Linked DNA regions of Homo sapiens: region 1 is linked to region 2. The links are contacts of gene promoters, found by promoter capture Hi-C in blood cells and fetal thymus (Javierre and others, 2016). All regions are on one chromosome and are shown on one strand. Each heading gives the region's core, a stretch centred on a gene start or on the middle of the fragment in contact. The rest is flanking DNA. Distances are from core to core; before and after follow the strand shown. Region 1 has its middle 45 kb from the start of KDM3A. Region 2 holds the start of REEP1 (receptor accessory protein 1).

Evidence for each region. Contacts are between HindIII fragments. The CHiCAGO score rates a contact against its expected background, and 5 or more counts as called.
Region 1: a contact is called between a fragment that was not itself captured here and the fragment with the promoter of REEP1 in region 2, in 1 of 17 cell types (total B cells). The highest score is 5.5, in total B cells.

What each region holds. Positions count from the first base shown.
Region 1 is chr2:86,392,601-86,400,009 of GRCh38, forward strand. No RefSeq gene overlaps it. Among named protein-coding and RNA genes, the nearest start is that of KDM3A, 45 kb to the right of the region's middle. The HindIII fragment of the contact is 1,867 bases long and covers 1,554-3,420 here.
Region 2 is chr2:86,335,612-86,342,594 of GRCh38, forward strand. It overlaps REEP1 (receptor accessory protein 1), which reads right to left and starts at 2,015. Exons shown (of 9, transcript NM_001371279.1): 1 at 1,868-2,015. The coding sequence starts at 1,899. The HindIII fragment of the contact is 12,312 bases long and covers 1-4,076 here.

The sequences.
Region 1 (7,409 bases), core at 1,237-3,736, 57 kb after region 2:
ATGTTTTGGCCACTGGTGTATGGCATATACTGCATGCTATGGGGCAGCACCCTAGCCTCCCAGCTGTCACTGTAACTGAGCCCTCCACAGGCCATTCCACTGTTTAATCAAGCCAGCTGATTTGGGGTGATGTGTAGCACATGGCAAAAACAGTGAATTCTATAGATACAAGTAATGAGCTCACGTCTATAGAATGCCCTTCACCATAAAATGATCTCCTTAATAAAGGCAATTTTGTGTGAGTTGCAGATGTTGAGTAAGGCATTATTTAAGCCCACAAATGGTGCTGGCAGAAGGACTTCTATGGTGGGCATAGAAGACAAACTCGTATCTTGAATAAGTATCTATTCCCATAAAGACAAATTGCTGTCTCCTCCGCAATGGAAAATGTCCAGTATAATCAACCTAAGACATTGGGGCTGGCTGGCAGCCCAAGGATAGGTGTCATAATGAGGCCCCAGTGTTATCTCTGCTGTTAGAACATTGGGCACCCAGCAGTGACGTTAGCTAGATTAATCTTGGCGAGAGGAATCCAGCTTGGTGAGCTCATGTAAAATCTACCCCTGCCACCGTGGACATTTTGTTTATGGGCCCATTGAGTAAGCATCAAAATGTTTAGGGAAAGGAAATCACTTTCAGCCACACATGGGTTGTTTTGTGCACTCCACTAGACCACAGAGAGCTGCCTCTTCAGTAGATGCCCTTTGGTGAGCATTCATAGTGGTTACAAATATGTACATTTTTAGTGCCTGTTTTGAAGAGTTAATTCACATACTTCCTGAAGACTTCCTTGTCACTAGTCTTCCAATCTTGCTCCTCAGAAGTCAGTGACCACTCTTCTAATCCATTAATCCTTGATCATAAATTGGTATAGTTGCATACTCCAGGGCATCTCGCCTTCTACAGTAAGTGGACAACAGATGTACTGCTTAAAATTCTGCCTATTAAGAGGATTTCCTTTCACCCTTGCCTTTCAGACTCACTCTTCAGGGGAGCTGTAAAACAGCAGCTGTTCACTTGCAGCCCTATCATGCAGACCCACTGCAAACCAAGCCTGTGCTTTTTCTTCTTCTGTCAGCTAGTCCTAGGCAACTCCCCTTGAGGCCACTGGTGTGGGCTGAGAGAGGTGGTAAAGTAGTAGAAGCAAAAAATGTGGGAGGGTGAGCCACCTGCTTATGCAATATTCTTGAGCCTTTTATACCTGCTTGGGCCTTATCTTGTAAACACCATTTCCATTTTATACTGAGTACTGCTGCACATTCCAATTTTATGACTCAGTGGATTAGATAATGCCCAGTTCACAATGGACAGTTTGAGTTGCCTAGCTTGCCATAGTCAGGATTCAGACTCTATCAGGGACTAAATTCAGCCTTGTTCTGGGAATTGGTGCCTAGGTCTTGTGGTTTCATGGGGTTTTCTGGACTCTCTAAAGTTGGCACAGGGCTTCCTGTATGCAAAAGAAATCCCTACACTAAAGACTTCCCTGACATGATTGTGTTGCTGCATAAACTGTGATAATAATGACTAACCTGACTTTCACTTTTATTTAGTTAAGCTTCATAACAATTTGGTGAAGTAGGTTTTATGTTCTCCATTTAATCAGAAGAGAAAAACCTTGATACAGCTCTAGAGGTTAAATGCCTTGTCTGAGGCTACATGGCTCACAAGTGGTGACAGCTGGAGTCAGACTGCCAACTGCAATACTGTCCCCTTGGCCACCCGAAGTAGCTTCCCAAAGGCATATTTATATCAGCCACCTGCAGAGTCCTTTCAGTGCACAGAGACAAATTAGATTCATCTAGCCTGGGCCAAGGTATAGGGCATAGAGTAGGGTAGGTAAAGGCAAGGATATCAGTGGGTCTTGGTACAGGATGATTTTGTTGAATTCCTAAGGACCACATTCTCAATGGTGATGCCCACATTATAATATATACTGAAGCAATTATTGATAAAATGATATAATTTCTAAAATTTGCTTTAAATTAGCCAGGAAGAGAGAAACCAGTGATGAAATAAGATTGGCCATGTGTTGATAACAGTTGAAGCCTAGTGATGAAAATATAGTTCATTATACTGTTTTTCCACATACTAAAAAGTAAAAAATATATTCTATTCACCATGGCAGACCACATTATGGGCCATGCACCTATCTTAGCAAGTTTAAAACAACAGAAACTACACAATATCTGCTCTCAGACTACAATAGAATTAAATCAGAAATTGATAAAAGAAAGATAGCTAGGGCCGGGCACGGTGGCTCACGCCTGTAATCCCAGGACTTTGGGAGGCTGAGGCGGGTGGATCACGAGGTCAGGAGTTCGAGACCAACCTGGTCAACATGGTGAAACCCCATCTCTACTAAAAACACAAAAATTAGCCAGGCATGGTGGCACGCACCTGTAATCCCAGCTACTCGGGAGGCTGAGGCAGGAGAATTGCTTGAATCCAGGAGGTGGAGGTTGCAGTGAGCTGAGATCATGCCACTGCACTCCAGCCTGGGTGACAGAGCAAGACTATGTTAAAAAAAAATCATTATTTTGTTGTAAATCCAATATTGTTTTAAATTATTTAAATGTCACTTTAAATGTTGTTATAAATCCAGTTCTCTTCACTCCGCATCAAACAAGGCAAGGTGTGATCACACAGACTATTTGGGGGTGGGTGGCTGTGGGTCGTCATCTCCACAGTGCTTGGTTTCTCTTCTCAAATCTACAGCTTGGAGTAGGTTGATTTCCCTGCCTGTTTCCCAGGGAAGCGTTGCACTACCCATATGGCAGCTTTCTCATACTCCCTGTCTGCATTCCTCTGTTTCCCTAAATGAATGGAATATCTTGGATGAACTACTGCAAGGTCCTTTGGGTCTCTCCCACACAGTTTTGGCTCACTGCAACCTCTGCCTCCTGAGTTCAAGCGATTCTCCTGCCTCAGCCTCCTGAGTAGCTGGGATTACAGGTGCCTGCCACCACACCTGGCTAATTTTTGTATTTTTAGAAGAGACTAGGTTTCACCACGTTGGCCGTGCTGGTCTCGAGCTCCTGATCTCAGGGGATCTGCCCGCCTCGGCCTCCCAAAGTGCTGGGATTACAGGCATGAGCCACCACACCTGGCCCGATAATTCTTTACTCCTAGAACTAACTTCCCAAGATGTACTATACACACACTCACTTCCCCCAACCCCCACTCAACATACACATACACAAGACTCACTTACTGCCCCATTCCCTGGAATTGGTAGCCTCTATCTCCAGAAATATGGGATGTGAGAATGGAGGGTATAAAAGAGAAGGGAAGTGTACAAAAAATGCACAAAGTGCATAAATAAATATCCAAGGGATTTAGAGGGTGGATTAAATGCCAGCTTTTGTTCTTCCTATGTTTTGTGTGTCTGAGCCCAAGGACAAAACCTAGATGGAAGAATCAAGCTTGCTTACTTACATCCAGCACTCAGAAGGCAAAGCTGGGGTTCGTACCAGGAGCTGTAGCTTGGGTGCTTTCCTCAAAATGGTTATATCTGCCTCATAATCAGATCCCAATTTATCTGTCTATTGATTGCCTGTTGGTCGTAGTTTTCAGTGCTGCTGCAAGATCTGGTTATTTTCTTCATCTTCGTGGACAAAACACTGGAGGCAGTATTTTGAGGACTGCTACTCCTTCCCATGCTATTCAATAAATCTCCCCCAGTTCAGTCAGAAACACTGAGAAGTTACCCTGTGCCAAGCCCTGGATCAGGTGGCACAGGCTCCATGATCATTGTGTATGGGTGAGCTCATAGTCTAGAGCCAGTGCCAGCCGTGGGACTCGGTTAATGCCTCAGCAAACCTCCTGGCTCTCTGCCCCCCACCCCCTTCGCCCTTCGCTGACTTTCCCTTCATGACCCTGGTCTTTCCGTTGTGCCCGTTTCTATTTGCATAGACAAATACTTTAGCTATGCACCTATCTTGATTCTAGAAACTTAGGCTGTGTTTCAAGAAATGGATTGTTGTGGTCTCCATTTTGCCTCTGGAGCAGTGCATAGTCCACAGGGAGGCAGCATAGTCCACAAGCCAGGGTCCATGCTGAATTCCAGATAGAGATAGCAGCTGTGTGGCCTTGAGCTTCATGTCTCCAGCTCCCTCATCTGTCAAATGGGGATAATAATGTGCACCTGATAGAATTTTGTGGTAAGAAAATGAGAGGAAATATATTACAACACAAAGCACAGTCCCTGAAACAAAATGAAAGCTGTATAATACTCTTTTTCTTCCCCATCTTATACATAATGTGAAAACATTCCCTAAAAAACTTGGTTTTGGTCGGGCGTGGTGGCTCATGCCTGTAATCCCAGCACTTTGGGAGGCCAAGGCGGGTGGATCATGAGGTCAGGAGATCCAGACCATCCTGGCTAACACGGTGAAACCCCGTCTCTACTAGAAAATACAAAAAATTAGCTGGGCGTGGTGGTGGGCACCTGTAGTCCCAGCTACTCGGGAGGCTGAGGCAAGAGAATGGTGTGAGCCCGGGAGGCAGAGCTTGCAGTGAGCCGAGATTGCGCCACTGCACTCCAGCCTGGGCAACAGAGCGAGACTCCATCTCAAAAAAAAAAAAAAAAAAAAAAAAAAGAAAGAAAAAACAACTTGGTTTTGCCAGTATGACCTGTGAAGCTTTTCTGTATTCCTAGAAAAGAGTATTGTGTGAGTTGGATGACTGTGTGTGTGTGTGCACGTACACTCGGTCACACATGCACACTCTCCAGGTCTGCTAAATGGGGAATGCTAAAGTTAGTCTATTTTTGTTTGTTTGTTTGTTTGTTTGTTTGAGATGAGGTCTCACTCTGTCTCCCAGGCTGGAGTGCAGTGGCGTGATCTCAAGATCTCCTCCTGGGCTCAAGTGATTCTCACACCTCAGCCTATCAAGTAGCTGGGATCACAGGTGCACACCACCATGCCCAGCTAATTTTTGTATTTTTTGGTAGAGACAGGGTTTTGCTATGTTGGCCAGGCTGATCTCAAACTCCTGAGCTCAAGCGATCCTCCCACCTTGGCCTCCCAAAGTGCTGGGATTATAGGCATGAGCCACCATGCCTGGCCACCAAACTTAGTCTGTGTGTGTATGTGAGTATGTGATGTGCATATGCTCGTGCACACTTGCATGCCTGTCTTGGAGAAAAGAAATGACTCAGTTAAATTTGATTCGGATAATTGTCTAATAAATTAGTCTTTAATCAATCAGCAGGTCTTCCTAAAACCCTCACTTGCTCTAGATGCCAAGAGGCACAGATTGATAGAAAATATATCTTCTGCCTACAAGGATTTGCTGGTCAAAACTCTTTAAATTAGCTTAGGCACAAGGGTAAAATGTATTGGCTCAGGGAGAAAGACTATAGAAAGAGTAGGTTCAGCTGGATCCAGGGCTTAAACCGCCAGGACTCTCATACTGTCCTTGGGGCTCTGTTCTTATCTCCTTGCTAGCTTTGTTTTCTTAGACTGGCTTCTCCATAAGATAAGGGATGTGGCCGTGGGCAGTCCCAGCATTACATCCACACCGTGTGCAACCACAGCTCTCCTTTCCAAGTTTGAATGATAAAAATCTAACAAGAAAACTCTGATTGGCCAGGCTTAGGTCATGTGTCAATTCCCGGCCCAAACCAAGCCCTTGGGAGTTAATACTCCACTTGTGTCACCTGCATTCACTGGTGGCCAGAACACAGAGTATCACAAATGGCAGACTCATGTGGCTAGGGGGCAGTTTCCCGGAAGAAGGATGTTGCTATTATGAGCAGATGAGATAAATAATTACCTACGACACAGATGCATGCTAAATTTTGCAGTGGAGGAAATTAAGTCAGTGAAATAGTAAGTCGGTATTTTTTGAATTCTATTTTGATGGTGTCGGTGATATATTTATATAACTTTTACCCAGTTGGAACAAGCTATTTGCTTTTTGATAATATAAATGAACCACTTTAGTCAAAGTTTCATAAAAAAGGTATATTGATCCAGTTATTTTCAGCAAATTACTGTGGTTTTACAGCTCAATGCATGCCCATGAGATGAGTATTTTCTCATTTACTTTATAGTAACCTTTGTTAAGAGACTTATTAAGTCATAGCTTGTGGTACAAAGAATTTAAGTCATCTCTCCTCTCTATTCCACAAATGTCTAGGGCTTCTTTCTTTTTTGACCACTAATGCCTATAATTTCCAGTATTAATATCTTCTGACATGAACACGATAACATGAATCTACTAGATATAAACAGATGTAACAGCCATGGAATCCATTAGTGATGCTTTCAGAAAAAGAAATTTGGGATCCCAGGATCTGTCCCAACATTTGTAATATCTTGGGATAGGACCAGAAATTATGCAAGACTAAATAGAAGGCATGGATGGTCTTGGACTTACATATGGACTCAACTTACTGAGGTGGTGGTGAAATGGGGAGAGAGTGAATGAGTCAAGAATTGCAGAGACAAGATCAAGAGGCCTTGGCAACTGCTTGGGAAGGGGAACAAAGTAGAGGGAGGAGCCTGAGATGACACTGAAGTGGGGTGGAGGAGCAACTCACAGAACTAGGAGACAGGGAGGGGAAGCAGGTTGGAGGAAGAGTCCATTCCAGACACGGTGAAGACGAGCTACCAGGATTTGTTGGTAATATGGGAGATTTGTTGGTAATGCGAGATTGAAGCTCAGGAGAGAAAACAGATACTGGCTGAGCCATGATGGCGAGTAAGATCAGCAAGTCAAAAAGTGTAGAGAGAGAAGAGAAGACAAAGGAACTTTGAGGAACACTCCCTTAGTGACTGGAGGAAGTACTTGGAGCCAGAGAAAGAAGCAGAGAAGGAGCATCAGAGAGAATGCAGACACTGGAGAATGCCGTGTCGCATTAAAGAGCTTTGGAAGGAGAGTGGCCCATGGTGTCAAATGTGAAGAGGAGCCTGAGAAGGAGTCCCTGAAGCCAAACTGGAAAGTCTCTGCTAGGTTGGTGCAATGGACTGAAAGTGTGTGTCCCCCCACCCCACAAATTCTTATGTTGAAGCTCTAATCCCAGTGTGATGATATTAGCAGTTTGTGCCTTTAGGAGGTGATAAGGTCATGAAGGTGGAACCCTCATGAATGGGATTTGTGCCCTTATAAGAAAAGGTCAGAGAGTTAATACACTCTCCCTCGTGAGGATGTAAGAAGTCAGCTGTCTGTCACTGGAGGAAACCCTCACCCGAACCCAACCATGCCAGCACCTGTTCTCTGATTTCCGGCCTCCAGAACTGTTAAATTTGATTCAGATAATTTAAGAAAACTGTGAGAAATAAATTTCTGTTATTTATAAGCCACCCAGTATATTACTCTTCATTACAGCAGCCCAAAGGGACTAAGAAGGTTGGGCTTCCCTCATTTAGGAGAGATTCCTCAGAAGCAGTCTTGTGCAGTCGACT
Region 2 (6,983 bases), core at 765-3,264:
AGGCCGAAGCGGGCGGATCACTAGGTCAGGAGTTCAAGACCAGGCTGGCCAACATGGTGAAACCCCGTCTCTACTAAAAATACAAAAATTAGCTGGGCGTGGTGGCAGGCGCTTGTAATCCCAGCTACTCGGGAGGCTGAGGCAGGAGAATCGCTTGAACCCAGGAGGCGGAGGCTTCAGTGAGCCGAGACTGTGCCACTGCACTCTCCAGCCTGGGCGACAGAGCGAGACTCGGTCTCAAAAAAAAAAAAAAAAAAAGGGCAGGGGTGAGGGAGGTGCTAATAAAACTAATGATAGTCACATGACCCAGTGCTAATAAAACTAATGATAGTCACATGACCCAGGATCAGATGCCCTCACTCCCAGCCCAGCAGGACCTACAGAGAGCCCACCAGCCAGGCCAGCTCAACTCTCCAGCCCCACCCTGAGGGCTTCCCAGAAGCCACTGGCAATATCGATCCCAGAGAGGAAACACCACCCTGAAGGCAAGACAGTGTTGGTCAGGCATGAGGCTGGGCAAGGCGTGTCAGCCACTTTCCTGTATTATTCATGTCGGCTCTGCCAGCAGAAATCTTCTAAATATTTAACATGCCACCTCAAGGTGCAGCGCAAACACCCCGCAGTCAGGAACAGCTGTGGAGAGGCCTTCACGGAATGACTTGGGGGCTGAGAGGCACAGACACTGGCTTTGGGAGGAAAGCCCTGAATGGTGGCGGGAGACAATGCTGAGATCCACTTCGGAAGGGAAAATCAGTAAAGAAGGGAAGGGAGATGGGTGGTGTTTCAAAACGTGGGGAGTGATGGTGCACAATCACTGGGGTCCAGAGCCCCGTGTTCTCAGACAAAGAAAAAGCCCGAGGTGCCTGCCACCCTCCTCCCCGCCTTAGACTCCCCACACCCATTTCAGCCCCTGCTAGCTACAGCAGGTGGCAAATCTGTTCTGACTCAGGCCAGGATGGTTAGGGAAGAACAGGGACTTGGAACAGCCACGTCTATCTCCAAAGGAGAATAAATCCACCGGGGAAGCTCTTCAAACGCCTACAGGTCCTGGGGCTTGAAGGAGAAAATCGGCCCCCACGCCCACCCCCAATGACTTCACACAGACCTCACCCTAGATGACTCTGCGCTCTCCTGCAAGGCCTGGGAGGTGTCATCGCCACCATGCGGGTGGCTGTCACTTGAAAATTTCCCGTGCATTCCTGGAGGTACCTGCCCCTGTCTCTCAATCCCCTGCAAAAGGAGTCGGAGCCGGGGGCTCCAGGCGTTTACTCCAAGATTCACATGCGTCTTCCCATGTCCCAGCTGCCTTTGCCGCTGTCGATGCAGACACCTAAAAAGGAGGATTTTTCCAACCCCACTGGGAGCCCCGCCTCTGCCTCTCCACCCGTTCCGCGCTGACCCTCCAGGCAGCGCCCCTGGTTCGTCTGCGCTGTCCTTTCCACCTGACAAAAGCTGGGGCGGCGGGGCGCGGCGCCGGGCGACCTCACATTTCTGCCAAAGGAGAGAGACGCGTGTCCGCGGTGCGCCCATTCGGGGCCTCTGCAAATCGACCGAGCTGAGGAACAAAGCGGCCAGCGCGCGGCGAGACGCAGCCCCCACGGAACCCCCGAGCGCCCCAGCCCTCGCCGTCCCGGCCCAGCCCCCCGCAAGCGGCCGCCGGCGCCGGCTGCCTCCTGGGCAGCAGCCGCGTCCTGCGCCGCCCGTCCGCCCGCAGGCGTCCTCGGCGGCTACTGTACCTGCTAAATTTAGCTGCGCCGGGTATTAATAGCCCGAGCCACTGGGACCGGGCGCTGTAGGGGCGCGCGCAGCCCGGGGCCGGGGGCGGGGAGGGAGGGGACGGAGGGGCGCGGGGGAGAAGGCCACTTACACCACCAGCCTGGAGATGATCCATGACACCATGGCGGGCAGGCGGGCGGGCGAGGCCCGGGCGGCGCGGCTCGGCTAGGCTGCGGGCGGCGCGGGCTGCTGCGGCGTTCCCGGAACGTCAGTCAGCTCACGGCAGCCGCCGCCAGACTGAGCGCGCCCGCCGCCCTGCCCGGCGTTCGCGCGTTGGCGCAGCCGCGGCACGTTCTGGCGGCGGCGGCGGCGGCCCCAGCCCCCCGGGGCTCGGCGGGCCCGCAGCGATTGGGCGGTGAGCTGGTCAGGGCACCCGCGGGCCCGCCCCGTCCCGCTCGCCCTGGCCCCCGGCTGAAGGCGGGCGCGTCCTGCGCGCTCCCCGGGGCACCGGCCCCGCCAAAGGAACCCTGCAGCGGCCCCGTTTGCAGGGCAGGGACCCGGGTGCTGCCCCACCCTCAGCGTTCCAGCGGAGAAACTGAAGTCCGAACCTGAACCTCGGGAATCTGTCTGCACCTGTCTAGGTGGGATGCTGTCATCCCTCATTCAGCTAGTGCGTTAGCCTCATAAAGGGTTTACCTGGATCCAGACCTAACCTCTTCAGTCTGTCCGTTGCTCAGCACTTTCTGCATAAGAAACAAACCTGGGCGCTTGCCTCCCTACTTAAAATTCTACAGAGTCCCTATATGATCGTGGTACCTGCCTAGAACCGTGTTGCCAAGACCATTCCCCCAAATAGTCCTCTAGCTCTTTTCCCTCCAGGCATCTTGGACTCAAATATTTGCTGTTTCTTCTTCCCTGTCAGTACACGCCACGCCTCATCGTCCTGCCTTGGTTTGATTCAGCTCCTTCTTCTAGGCTGGGCTGAAGGGCTACTTCTTCCTAGGGAAGGCCTTTCCTTGGGGGCTGCTCCGGGCCCTAGGAGGAGACTAGAAGCTGCGACTGCTTAGCACCAGTGCCCCGCTGAGCCACGTTGAACTCTTAGGCAAAAGGGAACTTGTGCACCCTATATAAACGTTTTTATGTATTTTTTAAAATACCGTATTAAATATTATGGTGGTTTTTTTTGTTGTTGTTGTTTTTTTATGAGACAGAGTCTCGCTCTGGGGTGCAGTGGCGCGATCTCGGCTCACTGCAAGCTCCGCCTCCCGGGTTCAAGCGATTCTTCTGCCTCAGCCTCATGAGTAGCTGAGATTACAGGAGTGCGCCACCACGCCCAGCTAATTTTTGTATTTTTAGTAGAGACGGGGTTTCACCATGTTGTCCAGGCTGGTCTCAAACTCCTGACCTCGTGATCCGCCCGCCTTGGCCTCCCAAAGTGCTGGGATTACAGGAGTGAGCCACCTATTATGTATTTTAGTTGCTGAATTTTATGGCACCTCTTAAATGTTGCACCCTCACTGAGCGCCTCACTCTGCTCACCCTAGTCCCGGCCGCAGATAGTACATTATTCTGTTACACTGGAAACGCTTTGTCCTCTACTCCTAGGCTCTGCTGCTGCTTTTCCCACCCTCCAATAGCTTAGGTTCTGCGTGGTGCTCCCAGCGCCCTGTCCTTTGCTGATGATGGTGTCATGTATAATTCAGTGTCAGATGTGAGAAGCGCAGGAGACAGCTTAGTACTCTCAGATGTAGCAGAATCTGTGCGTGCGTGTGCCTGATATAGTCAGAAGAAAGACTTCACGGACAACAAAGGGACTGCAGATGAGACATGCTCTCATATCTCAGGTCTCCAAAGAACCCATAAAATAGCTGTAATGTAGCAGTTTTTTCATGCTGCCTTGACCCAGTTTTGAGGCTCAGGCTGGAGGCTGGTCAGTTCCCCTTCTCCAGCAGTCTATTAACTGCATACCCCCAACCACTTCCGTTAGCAGGCTCTCACACGCGGGACACTATACACCTGTCCAGGGCTAGGCACCAAACAACTAGTTACAGCCCCTGTACTTCAGAACCCGCTGAAATTATCCAAATTAGCCTATCCTATATCTGCTTGCCTTATTTCACTCTTTCCTTCCCTCAGAAACCATGATAAAGATGTTTGTCCACAATTCCCCTCTCTCCCTCTCTCTGTGACAGACCCTGGCCCTGAGTGGACCTGCATGGTGTGCTGTGATCTCTCCAGGAAACTGTGGATATAAAAAGCTCTAAAACTCTTTCTAGCTTCTCTCTCTTGATCTGTGTCTGGCCCCACCATATCTCACTCAAGGTAAGGTTATACGGGTAAAACAATGCTCCACGGGGAAAAGCTTTCCATACTTACTAGGCAAAGAGAACACCAAAGCTAGATCAGGACAGCACCCAGCACAGAGGACCTTCCTGAGACCTCCCTTCCCCTCCATCCATACCCCTCACCTATGCTCCCTGCGTCAGAAAGGCTGTTACCCATCTTGCAGGGGGAGCAGCGGAGGGATGGACTACTGTGGTTCAAAGAGACCCTGTTGGTGGGAAAATAAAGAAGAGGTGACCACATGCTTGTTCCCTACTCCCTATAAGTGGAATTCTCAGATTTGACTATTGCACAGGACTGAGCATTTTAATTACCAAAATGAAACTATTCATGGGGTTAAAATATCTTGAGGTCTTTTCATTAGCTGAAGAGGACCAGAAAACTAGTGAGACCAACACATATTTCTCACAAGGGATGAGAAAGAACTTGTCCATAGAGCGGACTTGGATGGGTAGAGGAGGGAAAAGAAGAAAGAAAGAAAGAAAGTTGCTTTTGTACTGCATTCTGTCTCTTTCAGTGTAACTGTTACACTTATTGTATCTCTCTATCCTGGACCTGCTCTTGTTTGTCCTTGGCCCTGGAAAACATGTGGCCAGGGAACGGACTCCACCTTCTAGACAATGGAACTCTTACAGCTCTATCAGTTTCTTGACTTCAAGTTCTTTTTCATAAGAACTGCTTTGATAATAGATGTCTCTCATCTGTTTTTACCCTGTACCCTTCCCCTTTCTTCTGGGAAGAGCTCTCTGTTTTTCACTGGGGAATGAGTCTCCCCATACTCCAACCTTAGAAACTGTGATTTTCTTATATATCCTCACTACCTTGATTGGCTTATGGGTGATCACCAAACAGAAACTGGGCCAACGATCTCCCTTGGGATTTTTAAAGTTGAAAATAGAAAAAAGAGAATTCCACTTTCTTCTATGAAGCATTGGCTGCTGTGGGAATTGTCCTCCCATTGCAAACAACTAGAAAAACAGGATCAAAAAAAAGAAACAACTGTTTTTCTTTACTTGTTTGTTTGAGACGGAGTCTCACTCTGTCGCCCAGGCTGGAGTGCAGTGCTGTGATCTCGGCTCACTGCAAGCTCCGCCTCCTAGGTTCACACCATTCTCCTGCCTCAGTCTCCCGAGTACCTGGGACTACAGGTAGCCACCAGTATGTCCAGCTAGTTTTTTGTATTTTTAGTAGAGATGAGACGGGGTTTCACCGTGTTAGTCAGGGTGGTCTCGATCTCCTGACCTCGTGATCCACCCTCCTCGGACTCCCAAAGTGCTGGGATTACAGGTGTGAGCCACCGTGCCCGGCAAGAAGCAACTGTTTTTAAGCATTGAACAACAGAGCACAGGACTGTGATAACTAAGAGAAGAGAAACAAATGAAGTGAGTCTTACGTCCGAGCTTACTGTCTCAAAGCAGTTTCCAGGCATCACTGTAGGGATGGAGAACCCAAACAGAGCCCAGAAATTTCACAGAACACAGGAGACAGATCAGAGTCCAGGGAAGCCAAAGTGGCTAGAATTTGTGAAGCAGAATATAAGAGTGATGGGAGATGATTAGAGAGAGAGTTGCAGAGATCTGCAGAGCAGTCACTTCAAGTCATTAGCTGAATACTGTCCTAGGCATGCATGGGTGAAATTCTATGAGGCCATGGGAAGAACTACCAGAAAGCAGTATGCCAAACAATTCCTGGAGCTCACACAGGGCTGGAAGTAATTTGTCTTCATACCAGCCAAAACAGAGACCTTTTATACACAAAGCATTGGCCAGAGTCCACAGAAGGGTATCATCTTAATGCAGGGGGAGGCTAAATTAGCCCTAAAATAAACACTTATCTGGTCCTGCCTTAACAAAACTTAAAAGCAATCTTCAAAAGGATCAAATTGATCTCAAGTAACTTAACTGTGCTCAGAGAAAAAAAAAAGTCCAAGATTAGTTACAAAACAAACAACAACAAAACCCAACACCCAATAAGATAAAATTCACAATGTCCAACATGCAAACAAAAATTATCAGGCATGCAAAGAAAATGACTTGTAAGCAGGTTGAAAAATCAACCAATAGAAACAGACCATGAAGTGACAGAAATAATGCAATAAGCAAATAAATACCTTCAATTTTATAATATTTGAACAGACATTTCACCAAAGAAAAAATACAAATGGAAAAACAAAAAGTACATGAAAAAAATATTCAACATCATTAATCATTAATTAGGGAAATACAAATTGAAATCACAAGAAGATATTACTGCACACATTTAAGAATGGCTACAATGAAAAAGACTGATCATTTCATGTTCTGGCAAGGATATGGAGCAACTGGAACTCTCATATGCTGCTGGTGGGAAAGTAAAATGATACTACTTTGAAAAATGGTTTTCTATATTTCAAAAAAAGTGGAAATTACTTTTGCCTCACACCCTTCCCCTTTCTTCTGGGAAGAACTCTCTACTTTTTTTGGTGAATGATTCTCCCCATGTTCCAACCTTAGAAACTGGTCAGACAGTTTCTTTTTTTTTTTTTTGAGATGGAGTCTGGCTGTGTTCCCCAGGCTGGAATGCAGTGGCACGATCTTGGCTTACCACAACCTCTGCCTCCCAGGTTCAAGCAACCCTCCTGCCTCAGCTTCCTGAGTAGCTGGGATTATAGGCATGTACCACCACACCCAGCTAATTAATATATTTTAGTAGAGACAGGGTTTCACCATGTTGGCCAGGCTGGTCTCGAAATCCTGATGTCAGGTGATCCACCCACCTCAGCCTCCCAAAGTGCTGAGATTACAGGCGTGAGCCACCATGCCCGGCCCAGTTTCTTTTATAATTACATATACACTTACATATGACTTAGAAATTCGATTCTTTAGATATTCACCCAAGAAAAATGAAAACATGTCCACACAGACTTGTCCATAGCAGCTTTATTC